2 separate regions of the Homo sapiens genome follow, and region 2 is linked to region 1. Evidence: promoter capture Hi-C in 16 types of primary human blood cells and fetal thymus (Javierre and others, 2016). All regions are on one chromosome and are shown on one strand. Each heading gives the region's core, a stretch centred on a gene start or on the middle of the fragment in contact. The rest is flanking DNA. Distances are from core to core; before and after follow the strand shown. Region 1 holds the start of SYT6 (synaptotagmin 6). Region 2 has its middle 54 kb from the start of OLFML3.

The links. The method cuts DNA at HindIII sites, captures the fragments that hold promoters and counts their contacts. A CHiCAGO score of 5 or more calls a contact.
Region 2: a contact is called between a fragment that was not itself captured here and the fragment with the promoter of SYT6 in region 1, in 5 of 17 cell types (M0 macrophages, M1 macrophages, M2 macrophages and 2 more). The highest score is 7.4, in M0 macrophages.

The regions. Positions count from the first base shown.
Region 1 is chr1:114,152,619-114,158,803 of GRCh38, forward strand. SYT6 (synaptotagmin 6) reads right to left here and starts at 1,251. Exons shown (of 8, transcript NM_001253772.2): 1 at 992-1,251. The coding sequence starts at 1,154. RefSeq lists an enhancer at 2,426-3,039 and a silencer at 3,969-4,263. The HindIII fragment of the contact is 4,368 bases long and covers 1-2,297 here.
Region 2 is chr1:114,030,111-114,036,295 of GRCh38, forward strand. No RefSeq gene overlaps it. Among named protein-coding and RNA genes, the nearest start is that of OLFML3, 54 kb to the left of the region's middle. RefSeq lists enhancers at 511-1,094, 1,679-2,262 and a silencer at 4,917-5,211. The HindIII fragment of the contact is 211 bases long and covers 3,717-3,927 here.

The sequences.
Region 1 (6,185 bases), core at 1-2,500:
ATACCCTGGGCCGGCCGCCACGTCGCCGACCCTCCCGCAGCTCCCGCCGCCAGGGCGCGACACGCCATTCCCCCTGCCGCGACTCCCCGGAGACGCCGCAGCTGCGCGCCAGGGTCCAGCCCGGCGGGGATCGGGCTCGGGACTCACCCGCTCCGGCGAGCTCGACTCAGCTCGGGCTCCCGCCTCGGCTAGGCAGCCGCCTGGGGCTGCGTCCCGCGCAGGGTCAGCGCGGATCGGGCAGGAGGCGCCCTCTTGGCAAAGTCGGCTAGAGGCGCCAGCTCAGTCGCGCACCGGCCCCGAGTCCGAGTCCGAGAGGGACGGAGGGAGCGAGTTATAGGGGCGAGAGGGGGTGGGGGAAGGACGCCGCAACACCCTCATACCCTCCCCCACCCCGCCCCCTGTCCCCCGCCCCCCAGCGGAGACGCGGAAAACCACTCGCAGCCGGAGAGACACCCGGACACAAAGACCTCGTGCCAGCCGCAGACCCAAGTTTCTCCCGGAGAGACTGGGGGTCCGCCCGCGTTCACCGCGAGAACACACAAACGGACGGACAGACCGACGCACGGACCCGGGGACCTCGACACTCGCTAGGAGGCAAGCCCTATTCCTCAGCCGGGCGCCCCTCGTCTCCCGCTCTCTCCATGGACCCCTCTCCTGGCAAATCGCCCGCAGAGCGAGCTTGGAGATGCGAGGGAAACTGAAGCCCCAAGGGTGCCCCGTCCTGGGAGCCTGGCTGTCTGCGGGGTCCCCCGCATTCCGCAGTAGTAATACAGGAGGGCCGGGGGCTTCTACCCCAACCTCCGCTCCCCTTCGGGTCTCTCCTGGCTGTGCAAGCGATGGGCCAGAGGGCTGGACGAGGCTGGCTCCCAATCCAGAATCCCGAGCTGGGGAGTTCTCTCTAGGTTCTGGGGCTCCTGGGACCGGGGCTTTGGGGAAGGGAGATCGCAGGACGGATATCCAGGAAGGGAGGGGGCCCTGGGTCTCCCGTTACCTGCGCCTGCCGCGCTGGGACTCCGCTCTGGGGGCTGCAGCTCGAAGCTCCGACAAGTCTCCACGTCCAGCCCGAGAGGGGGCGGCCGGGCCCGGCACAGCGAGGCGAGGACCGCGAGCGCCTCCTGGCACCGAGGCCCGCCGGCCCCCCACACTCCGCTCATGCCCTAGACACCCAGGCTTGCCGAGCAGCAGCTCGAACCCGCGCCCCGGCCGCACTGGGGCGGGGCACGACGGCCCCAAGAAGACCCTCCCTGCAGCGGCCCCCTGCGGCTCCGCTCTGCTTTTAATCACTTCCCCGCAGGGTCCCCGCCCCTCACGTGGCATCCCGCGGCAGCTGGCGAGTCTGGCGCCTCGCGGCCGCCCCCTCTACACTCAGGGACTGGCCTGAGTCCGGGGGGTGGGGGTTTCGAGGCGGGAAGCCGGGCTGTCCCGAATCTCGGAGGGTGCAAGGCCAGGAAAGAGTCCGGGTTCCCACTCCGCATTCACTGCCTGGTGTGACCTTGGGCGTCTCTGAGCCTCAATTTTCCTCTCCGTAAAGGAGGTGTAATGATTTTAAGTACTTCACGGACTCCCTGGGGATAGAAAGATCGTGTTTGTGAAAACACTGGGTAAACTGCCACATGCCACACGAATGACAGAGAAATAGATAACCCCGTAACAGAAAGAGCGACGGTCAGGCAGGGTCTGGGAGGACCTTGGCCGAGGTTCCTGACGGGAGCAGTTAGACTGGCCCCCGAGTCCCAGCTTCGGAGGTAGAAGACCCCAAGACAGGCGGGCGATGCGAACTGCAAGACTTTCCGAGCTCCGCAATCCTGCGGTCCGCGGTACCCGCATGTTGCTATGGCGACGGGAGGCAGCGGCCGTCTCTCTCCATGGCAACGGGAGGGAAAAGTTTCTGGCAAACAGGAATGGGGGGTCATTTCAAGAGGGCGCAGGGCGCTCAGTTCCGCCGACCCACCTCCTTGCTTCGGTGAAACAGCACCAGAGATCATGTATCTTTCTGCTAAGCATAACAAGAAAGACAGAAAGCTCAACGGGAGGATTGAGGCTAGACTTAAAGTAGAGATCCCCTCAGAAACTGTGGAGTGAGGCCCAGGAACAGATCGGCTGAGAGGCTTCGAGCTGCCTCACTCAGCGCTGGAAGTCTGTGAGCCATGGTCAGGGAGGCCGGGGGACCAGCGCCCTGCAGGGGCCTATCTCGGGAGTCTCTTGATCTACACCTGTCGGCGGTGGGGCCCCTTCTGTGTGGGGCTCGCCTGAAGCCCCAGACTCAGGTCCATTTGCTCTCCCGGAGCTGGGAAGGAAGCTTTAGCTGCAGCCCCTGGAGGCTGCTGGGTTGGTGTATGCCCGAGTGGCTGGCGAGGGAGAAAGGTCTTGCCTCTTAATTAACACGCTTATTGGAAGTGACTCGGGCAGTGACTCACGTTCCGGAGGGAGGAGATTCGGAGCCTTAGCTCCTGGCGGTCTCCACTGCGCGCCATCTGTGCCAACCGGCCCTTGGACTTGCGATCCCCTAGCAGCTGGTGCCTGGGGCACCAAGGGCTAAGGCAAGGCCTGTGAGGACCCTGGCCCAGCCAGGCGGCTTTTCCACCGTGAGGCGCCCCCTGGCTCTGTCCACGGTGCTGAAGACCCAGTTGGTGCTACCATCGCGTGGGCATAAGTTTAGGGGACGAGGGAGAGGCAATTGTTGAAGGTTCGCAGCTTCCACCCTGACCCCTGTGCCTGTGATAGCAGAAGGCTAGGAACTCAGGCAGGGACCAAGCAGACACGACGCAGGCGATACTGTGCAATCCGGGCTGCCTTCCTGCTGGAGGTGTTTGGTTGCTGTTCCAAGAACAAGTGGGGCTCTGGCATCCCTATGCGCCTTCCTGGTGCTTCTGAAAACCCACCTGAGGAGCCTAGAGGCCCCATTAATTTCTTTTCCATCACCCGATGCAGATCTCAGCACCCAGAAGAGCCTCTGGCTAAACGCTTATTAGCAGTTTCCCAAGTGGCAGGTTTGTGTTTATGTAAAATACAAATGGAGAACTGCTCTTTGCCCGTGTTTATGGCAACTCTGTCACTCCCCTGCTATTTCTCCCTCCCCCTCGCGAGTTCCTGGGGGAAATTCACAGAACAAAGCACCTTGTTTTGCCTTTGCAGAGAATGAAAAAACACAGGACCATTCCAAGGGCCCAGACCTGTGATGCAGGGAAATCAATATTTTGCTTACATCGAGTGGGGGAATTTGCATCTAAACTGAAGGCAAAGGAGCTTGTTTGGAGCAGAGCAGGTGGCAGGAGCCGAGAATTAACAGATAATTTCTCATTGTTCCTGGATTCAGCCTCCACACTCGGCAGGCGCTTCTGCAGCGTCTCTGGCGCCCCGGCAGCAGCTCCGGACCTGGCATTTCTCAATCTAGCAGTGTGAAGGAGCTGCTGCCCTGATAGGGCTGCAGAAACAGGTTAGGGCCCCTGGGTCAGTCAATAGCTATTGAAGTTGGATTGTAGGAGTTAGCGTGTGTGGGAGAGACAGAGATGAGAGAGACAGAGAGAAAGAAACAGAGACAGAAATAGAGGCAAGAGACAGATACAAATGAGAGAGACAGAGGATGAGACAGAGATACAGAGAGACAGTTATAGGAAATAGAGAACAGAGAAACAGACAGGGAGACAGATGTACAGGTAAAGAAACACACATTCAGAAGGAGACATTAAGGTAAAGCCTCACCCTAGTTGTCCTCTTTAGCCCGCTACCTCCCCCAGCCCCCAGGTCAATTGCTGATACCACTGTGGTCACATAACCAGCCACAAAGCAGAAAAATTCTTCATGTAATGATGGAAACTTTTTTGTCTCTCAAACCCCTTTGCCCTGCAAACCCAACCCCCAAACACACCTTTGCTTCTTCCCATATGAAGAGATAAAATTCAGAGTCCCAGGGTCCCACCAAGAGCTGGGAGGGAGGATCCAGGGTCCCACTCAAACCCAGAGAGGGAAAGAGGTGGAAAGAAGTGGAATTGTTGCCCTTCAATTCTATCTCTCAGAGAAATCCCATTCTGAGTTTGGGTTTAGGGGTGGGGAGGAGAGAAGCAGGAGCAGAGACAGTTAAGCATGGAGTGGTGGCAAATAAGTACATTGGACAGGGCCTGGGAGGGCTGGGATTCAGGGCTGGTGCACCAAAGCAGCCACGAGGCTGTCACATCCCCTATCTGGGGCTCAGTGTGCCTATGTGAAGTTGGATTAGGAGCTCTTTGAGGCTCCTTCCAGCAACAGCACTCTAGGATTTTACATGAGGGAGAAAAGAGGAGGCTGGGGCAAAGGGAGGAGGGAGGCAGCCTTTCCTGGCTCTGAAGCTGAGGGTGGTTTTACAGAGGCCAACTCACTTTCAGCTCCCCCTCCCCCATCGTTCTCATTGCGCCTACAGCCATGCATGGAGCATCCCGAGTCTGGGCACCTCCAGACCAGACTTCTCAGATGCAGGAAGAGGAGCTGGGGTGGAATGGGAGGCAGAATGAGAGGAGGTTTGAGACAGAAACAAGAGGCCTCCCACTCCTATGCCCTCCTCTCTTCGGAAATAGCCAATGTGCTCATCTCCTGCCCCCAACTTAAGTCTCTGCCCTTGGGCAGGCTCCCACTCTGCTCTGAGCAGCAATGTCTTGTTGAGTTATGTTGCAAATAAAATAAATTAAAACCAAATAATAATTTCTTTAAAAAAATTGAACCTTGGTAGGAAATTGCTAATGCTGTAGGCGGGAAGAATGAGCTCCTTTGACATGAGCCGATGTGTCATATTGTCTTTCCATCTCAATGCAATTTCTAAATAGGGAGCCCTTTCCCCATTCCCTCCTCCCTCCAAGTCCCCAGCAGAAATGTAAAGGGAGCAGTCTGACGATTGTAGCTGGATTGTCTGACGTGCAGGGAGAGACACAGAGGAATAGACACACAAGCACACCTACAGCTTTGCCACGTGGATAGAAGCTAAGGAGGCTCTGACCCAACCCTGAGGGCCCCTGGTCTCTTCTCCCCACCTCCCCCATCCTCTGCTTACTGAGGCATGTAGCCGCCTTCTGCAGAAGTGTTAATTTACTCAAAAAAACAAACATCAGTTGAACCTAGTCTACTGCAGAATCAAGTTGAGGTCCTGTATTTGAGGGTATAACTTCATATCATTATTTGGAATAAACTGTACTATGGATTCCCTATGGGGTTTCAGCCAGAACAGCTTTATCAGTATTTCCTGCAGATGACACTCTCTCCCCCAGCCCCCATACCAAGATAGCAAATCTAGCCAAAGCTGGGTGACTTCTGCAAATCATGCTGTCCCAAGCCATCATCAGAGTTTTCAGGGATTCCTCCTTACCTGAGAAGATGCAGAAGACGTTGCAGAGCTCAAGGTCAATGCCTAGGTGCTTTTTGAAAGCGTCCATTCTTGCTTTTATTCCAAGAAATATGCTTGGCAGTTCAAACATCCTGAACCAGGGTATATTTGCCTCTCTCCCATTCCTCCCCTATTTCAGCAGTCTCATCTCTGTTCTGTGCTCTCTGCTCAAGCACACAATATTCCACATCAGACTTGGGAAGACTGGACAATGTTTTCTGCATCCAGCCTGGCTTTGTGGACAAAAGCAGGCTGGAGTTCGGGGAAGCAGAGACAGGTTGAAGGTCAGAAGGCAGTATCATCCTTCAAACAACTTTAGAGCTAGGCCTAACCATGGTGGGTCGAGGTCTGTCTCCATTACTGAGAAGTGAAGATGATGTCAGAATGGAAGGGCTAGGAAGGGAGCCAAATAGTCCTCTTCTCACTGACCTTGTACAGAAGAAACAGCACGGCTTTGGAGTTGGACAGATCTGCGTTCAAATCCTGGGTCTGTTATTTACCAACTGGATTGCTTTAGGTGCTATACTTTAGCTCTCTGAACTTCAGCTTCCTCATTTGTAAAACGGGACATATAGGGCCTGCTTCACAGTGTACAAGGCAAGGATTACATGAGTTGGGTTAAATGGTGAAGGTACTGTGACTGATCCATGGCAAGTGTTAAATGATGGTTCCTGTCCCCTTTCTTCCTTTTTTCAGAATGTAGAGGAAAATTTAGCAGGTACACTATTCAGAGGTTAACCTGTATTCTTCCATGGGGCAAGTCTCTGCAAATTGTCCAGAAGGAATTTATCTCATGTAATTCTTACAAAAATACTGAGAGGCACAATGGGTGGAT
Region 2 (6,185 bases), core at 2,572-5,071, 120 kb before region 1:
ATGCCTCTTTAATAAAAACTCTTCTCAAGGCCACTTTACTTCCAAAGGAAGCTGGAGTCATTCACTGCAAGGGCCATCAAAAGGCATCAGATCCCATTGCTCAGGGCAACACTTATGCTGATAAGGTAGCTAAAGAAGCAACTAGTGTTCCAACTCCTTTCCCTCACGGCCACTTTTTCTCCTTCTCATCGGTCACTCCCACCTACTCCCCCACTGAAACTTCCACCTATCAGTCTCTTCCCAAACAAGGCAAATGGTTCTTAGACCAAAGAAACTATCTTCTTCCAGCCTCACAGGCCCATTCTATTCTGTCATCATTTCATAACCTCTTCCATATGGATTACAAGCTGCTAGCCCATCTCTTAGAACCTCTCATTTCCTTTCCATTGTGGAAATCTATCCTCAAGAAAATCACTTCTCAGTGTTCCATCTGCTATGCTACTGCTCCTCAGGGATTATTCAGGCCCTGTGACCTCCCTTCCCTACACATCGAGCTCAGGGATTTGCCCCTGCCCAGGACTGGCAAATTAATTTTACTTACATCCCCCGAGTCAGGAAACTAAAATACCTCTTGGTCTAGGTAGACACTTTCACTGGATAGGTAGAGGCCTTTCCCACAGGGTCTGAGAAGGCCACCACGATCATTTCTTCCCTTCTGTCAGACATAATTCCTCAGTTTGGCTTTCCCACCTCTATACAGTCTAATAATGGACAGGCCTTTACTAGTCAGATCACCCAAGCAGTTTCTCAGGCTCTTGGTATTCAGTGGAACCTTCATACCCCTTACCGTCCTCAATCATCAGGAAAAGTAGAACTGACTAATGGTCTTTTCAAAACACACCTCACCAAGCTCAGCCTCCAACTTAAAAAGGACTGGACAGTACTTTTACCACTTGCCCTTCTCAGAATTCGGATTGCTACAGGGTACAGCCCATTTGCGCTCCTGTATGGATGCTCCTTTTTATTAGGCCCCAGTCTCATTCCAGACACCAGCCCAACTTGAACTGCACCCCAAAAACTTGTCATCCCTACTGTCTTCTGTCTAGTCATACTCCTATTCGCCATTCTCATCTACCCATAAATGCCCTGCTCTTGTTTACATTGCCGGTTTACACTTTTCCTTCGAACCAGCATAACTGATATCTCCTGGTTTTACCTCAAACCGCCACCCTTAAGTCTCTCTTAAAGTGGATAGATAATCTTTGCTGACAGGGTACGCTCCAATACTTTCACCCTGATGAAGCCCTATTCTTTACTTTTATACTCACTCTTATTCTCATTCTCATTCTTATGCCACTCTCTACCTCTCTCCCCAGCTATCTCCACCACACTATCAATCTCTCTCACTCTCTCCTAGCCGTTTCTAATCCTTCTTTAACAAACAATTGCTGGCTTTGCATTTCTCTTTCCTCCAAAATCGCTGAGGCCTCAACTTACACACTGAAAAAAAAAAAGACTCTGTATATTTTTAAATGAAAAGTGTTGTTTTTACCTAAATCAGTCTGACTTGGTTTGTGACAACATAAAAAAACTCAAGGATAGAGCCTAAACTTGGGACCAAGCAAGTAATTACGCTGAACCCCCTTAGGCACTCTCTAATGTCCTGGATGTCTGGATGTCCTGGGCCCTCCCAATTCTTAGTCCTTTAATATCTGTTTTTCTACTTCTTTTATTCGGGTCTTGTGTCTTCCGTTTAGTTTCTTAATTCATCCAAAACCGTATCCAGGTCATTACCAATCATTCTATACGAAAAATGTTTCTTCTAACAACCTCACAATGTCACCCCTTACCACAAAATCTTCCTTCAGCTTAATCTCTCCTACTCTAGCTTCCCACGCCACCCCTAATCCCGCTCGAAGCAGCCCTGAGAAACACCGTCCATTATCTCTCCACACCACCCCCCAAAATTTTCACTGCCCCAACACTCACCACTATTTCATTTTATTTTTCTTATTAATATAAGAAGACAGGAATATCAGGTCTCTGAGCCCAAGCTAAGCCATCATATCCCCTGTGACCTGCATGTATACATCCAGATGGCCTGAAGCAAGTGAAGAATCACAAAAGAAGTGAAAATGGCCTGTTCCTGCCTTAACTGATGACATTACCTTGTGAAATTCCTTCTCCTGGCTGATCCTGGCTCAAAAGCTCCCCCACTGAGCACCTTGTGACCCCCACCCCTGCCCACCAGAGGACAACCCTCTTTGGCTGTAATTTTCCACTACCTACCCAAATCCTATAAAACAGCCCCACCCCTATCTCCTTTCACTGACTCTCTTTTTGGACTTAGCCCACCTGCACCCAGGGGAAATAAACAGCCTTGTTGCTCACACAAAGCCTGTTTGGTGGTCTCTTCACACGGACGTGTGTGACAAGGAACACCCTCCTTGAGCACAGGGGGAGGGTGAATATCAGAACTGAATCTGACTTCTGACAACATAGGAGCTGAAGGGACCTTGGATGTTGGGTAAGCAGTTCCCACTGTCTGTCACAAGCCCTAATAAAATACAAGTAAGAGAAAAGAACAAAACTGGGGCAATCTAATCAAGAAAGGCTTTCTGGAATGCATGAGGCCCCAGCGAGATCTAAAATTCCTAGATGGACTTGGTGTTGTGGAAGCAAGACAGCAGTCGGGCAAAGGAGAGACAGGAAGCAAATGAATTCTACCTTGCCAACAATGGGAAACAGACATACTTAATGTGAGTAGAGAGGTAGCCTTGGCCAGGAAAGTTTGTTTGAAGATCCTGGTCTGTCTTGACTTTAAATCACTTGCCTTTGGAATGGAAGAGAACAGACATCTCATCAAATGAACCAATCTGAATGCAAGGAGCACCCGAATCCATCCCCACTCAGGAATCCTGGTTACAGATGCTAAAAGATGTCTTTGACAGTGAACAGTGGGTCATAAGATCTATTTCTGCCTCCTGTCTGTGACTCACTGGATGACTCAAGGTGAATCTCTCCCCATTTCTGAGTATCTGGCCCCCATCCATGAAGAACAGAAGATCACATCAGTATTTCCCTTCGGCAAGGTTGGCCCCCGCTGCAGCAACTGTGCAAAGACCACCAGACTGCCCTCTCTGCCAGCTTACTCTTCAGCCTTTCTGGCTCTTTCTCCCACTTCCACATCCCTGCTTCATTTTTCTTTTTCTCCTTTTGCAAATAGCATTGCTCCAAAGCAACCCAGGCACGTGTCTTGGGGACAGCGCTGCGAGCTACCCCTGAGCTGTGGGGAGCAGGCCCAAGATTGTTTGCTATTAGCAACTCCTGTTTGCAGGATAAATAAAGCGAACCTGAGTGCAGGCTCCTGTGGGCTGGGACATTTTCATTCTGCAGCAGGTCAGCTTCCATTCCACTAGGGGGCTTTGAATGTTAATAGGCATTTCTTTCCAGGTACCCTTCTCCTTTCTCTACAGTGCACCAGTCCCTGTGGGACCTTCCATTGGCATCCTACGGAGAGATTATTACTCTTTTCATTGTTTTCCTTACAAATTAGTTTCTGGATTTAATGGCTTTGGTTGCTGAGCAGATTTTGGAAATTGGGGCAGATGGTGGGGTGGGGTGATCTGCAGAGCCCATTATGGGCACTGGGTTATTGACTGCTTGGGATTTAAGGTGGAATTAACGCTTTCCTGTTTCTTGGGGAATTTTGCGATGGGGTTGGACCTTCTTTTCCCTTAGAAGGAATTGTGTTTGTTGTTATTGCATGTTTAAGAAGCTTCTAGAAATTGTAGCTCTGGAATACAATAGGTAGAGAATGCAGGTTTTTAATGGGATGTGGGGGAGTGTTGCTCAGTTGTGGGAAGATTTGTAATAATGGTTGGGACTGGGGATAGAGCGTTACCTGAGGACGGTTTTATTAATGCCACAAAGCATAAAGTTTAAAAAAAAAGAAAAAAGAAAATCCAGGGGTGTCTTACTGTCAGAAGCTTTGGAACCATGTTGAATAGGTGCTGGGTAAAATGAGACTGAGACCTGCTGGGCTGCATTCCCAGGAGGTTAGGGATTCGCAGTCACAGGGTGTTTACAGTTAAGGGAACAGGTTAATAATGTTTACCAAACAGACCCAGGACTTAACAGACCCAAGAAATGTCTTGATGTCCTGCTATCTTAAGCACAAAAGCATTCTTTGTTTAGTAATAAATTTTGCTTTAAAGATAGTAATATAGATTCTTGCAAAAGTCAGTAGTTACACAAGGATTAACAATCCTTTGTCATGAGCCCTTGTAATAGACCACATCCTTTTCATGATTTTTTGCCTTGTTATCTCATATATAAACATGCATTGCACCTAATAAGGTGGGCGCCTTACTCCTCTTGCTTTCAGAAATGCCCTGCTCAGTCCATGGAGCAACCATTCTTTCATTCCTTTACTTTCTTAATAAACTTGCTTTCACTTTACTCTGTGGACTCACCTGGAATTCCTTCTTGTGCAAGATCTAAGAACCCTCTTTCGGGGTCTGGATTGGGACCCCTCTTTCATAACACTGGTGCTAGGAATGTGAGCACAAGTGCATGCCGGAGGAGTGGACAAAGGTGAGAACCACTGTTCCAGGAGGACAGGGTGGGATGAGATGGGCACCCTAGGAGGTAACGGGGTCTGTGAAAAATTGGTGGGAGCTGGTAATCTGAGTGATTCATCTTTGAGTTTAGGATGGGTTAGTCATCTCTACAGTGGGCTGGGACCAAGAGGTGCCCATCCAGCTAGAAACTGCTGCTGAGTGGGAGTTCCCACAAGGGTTTGGAGCTTCGAAATAGGAAGATGGAAGTGAACAGCGAAATGAGCAGCAAGAAAAACAGCTATCATTAAAAGAGGAATTTGGGGATCAGAGAAATTATGCCAAGGAGATGGTACCATTAATCTCCCAATTCAGATGGAAGCCTTTGTAGTTAACGGGGAGACGCCTTGTAATAAAAACCAGGTCAGAACGTAGGCAAAAGGTTCTTTAGCATAATAAGGCCAGGATAATTACTTCCTTAAGAGTAGGGTCAAAGCTGTGTTAATGGGAAGAATATGCATGCATTACATATGCTAGACTGAGGTCTTTGTAAGAAAATGAATTGCAAAGGGGTATTTTCTTTTAGGTCATTCAGGGAAAGAAGACTGCAGCATTTGCTCATGGAGAGGAGCTGAAATGGAGGTGAAAAATCCACTATTTCTGCTCATCATCCCTCCCCACATGCGTAGTTCTCAGCTGATTAGCAGAGCCTTGGATGGAGGAAGACCATACTGACACCCGCCTGAGGAAATGGCAGGACCAAGAGGAGAGTGGGCTTAGGTTTTCCTCATCCTATAGGAGAGGAAGAATATCCTGACTGAGGAAGGACTTACAGTGGGGACTGTGAAGGGGATGGAGTGGGATGAGGAAGGGAATTAGAGAATGGGGAACATTCTGCCCGAGGCGTTGCCTTCTCTTATGTACAGATAATGGTAGCTCTCCTTTATTTGAGGAGCTACTCTGTTCTAAGCTCTTTTACCTGGATGGTCTTGTTTAATCCTCACAGTAATACTAAGAAAAGACACTATTATTTTCTATTTCCATTTCATAGATGAGCAACCAAAGGATTAAAACAGGCGTGTGCAATCATTTGGCGTCCCTGGGCCGCATTGGAGGAAGAATTGTCTTAGGCCACACATAAAATATACTAACACTAACAATAGCTGATGAGCTAAAAAAAAAAAAAAATTACAAAAAAAACTCATAATATTTTAAGAAAGTTTATGAATTTGTGTTGGGCCATATTTAAAGCCATCCTGGGCTGCATATGGCCCATAGGCTGCAGGTTGGACAAACTTGAATTAAAAGTTCATGTGACTTGCCCAAGGTCATTCCCCTAGCGAGTGGTGGAACTAGGATCTGTCTGAGGCAGTGTGGCTCTAGAACTCAATCTCTCAAACTACACACTACACTAGTTCGGAAATGGAGACTAAATGATCACAACCTTCAGTGCTCCAGGTCTTTCTAGCTTTGGAGAACTTTGATAAAGAATTGCTTCAAATGCCATCAGAGATATTACTATAGAGTTTGTGTTTGCCTAGAACAGAGGTGTAAAAATGAAAAAGGTAAAAATAAATAAAATAACTATACAGTCTGACGAAGACTGGCTAGGCTGTGTTAGGAAAGGGGAGAATCCATAATCAGTGGTCATCTGACACACCCCAGGTGACAGCTTTGATTACCCAG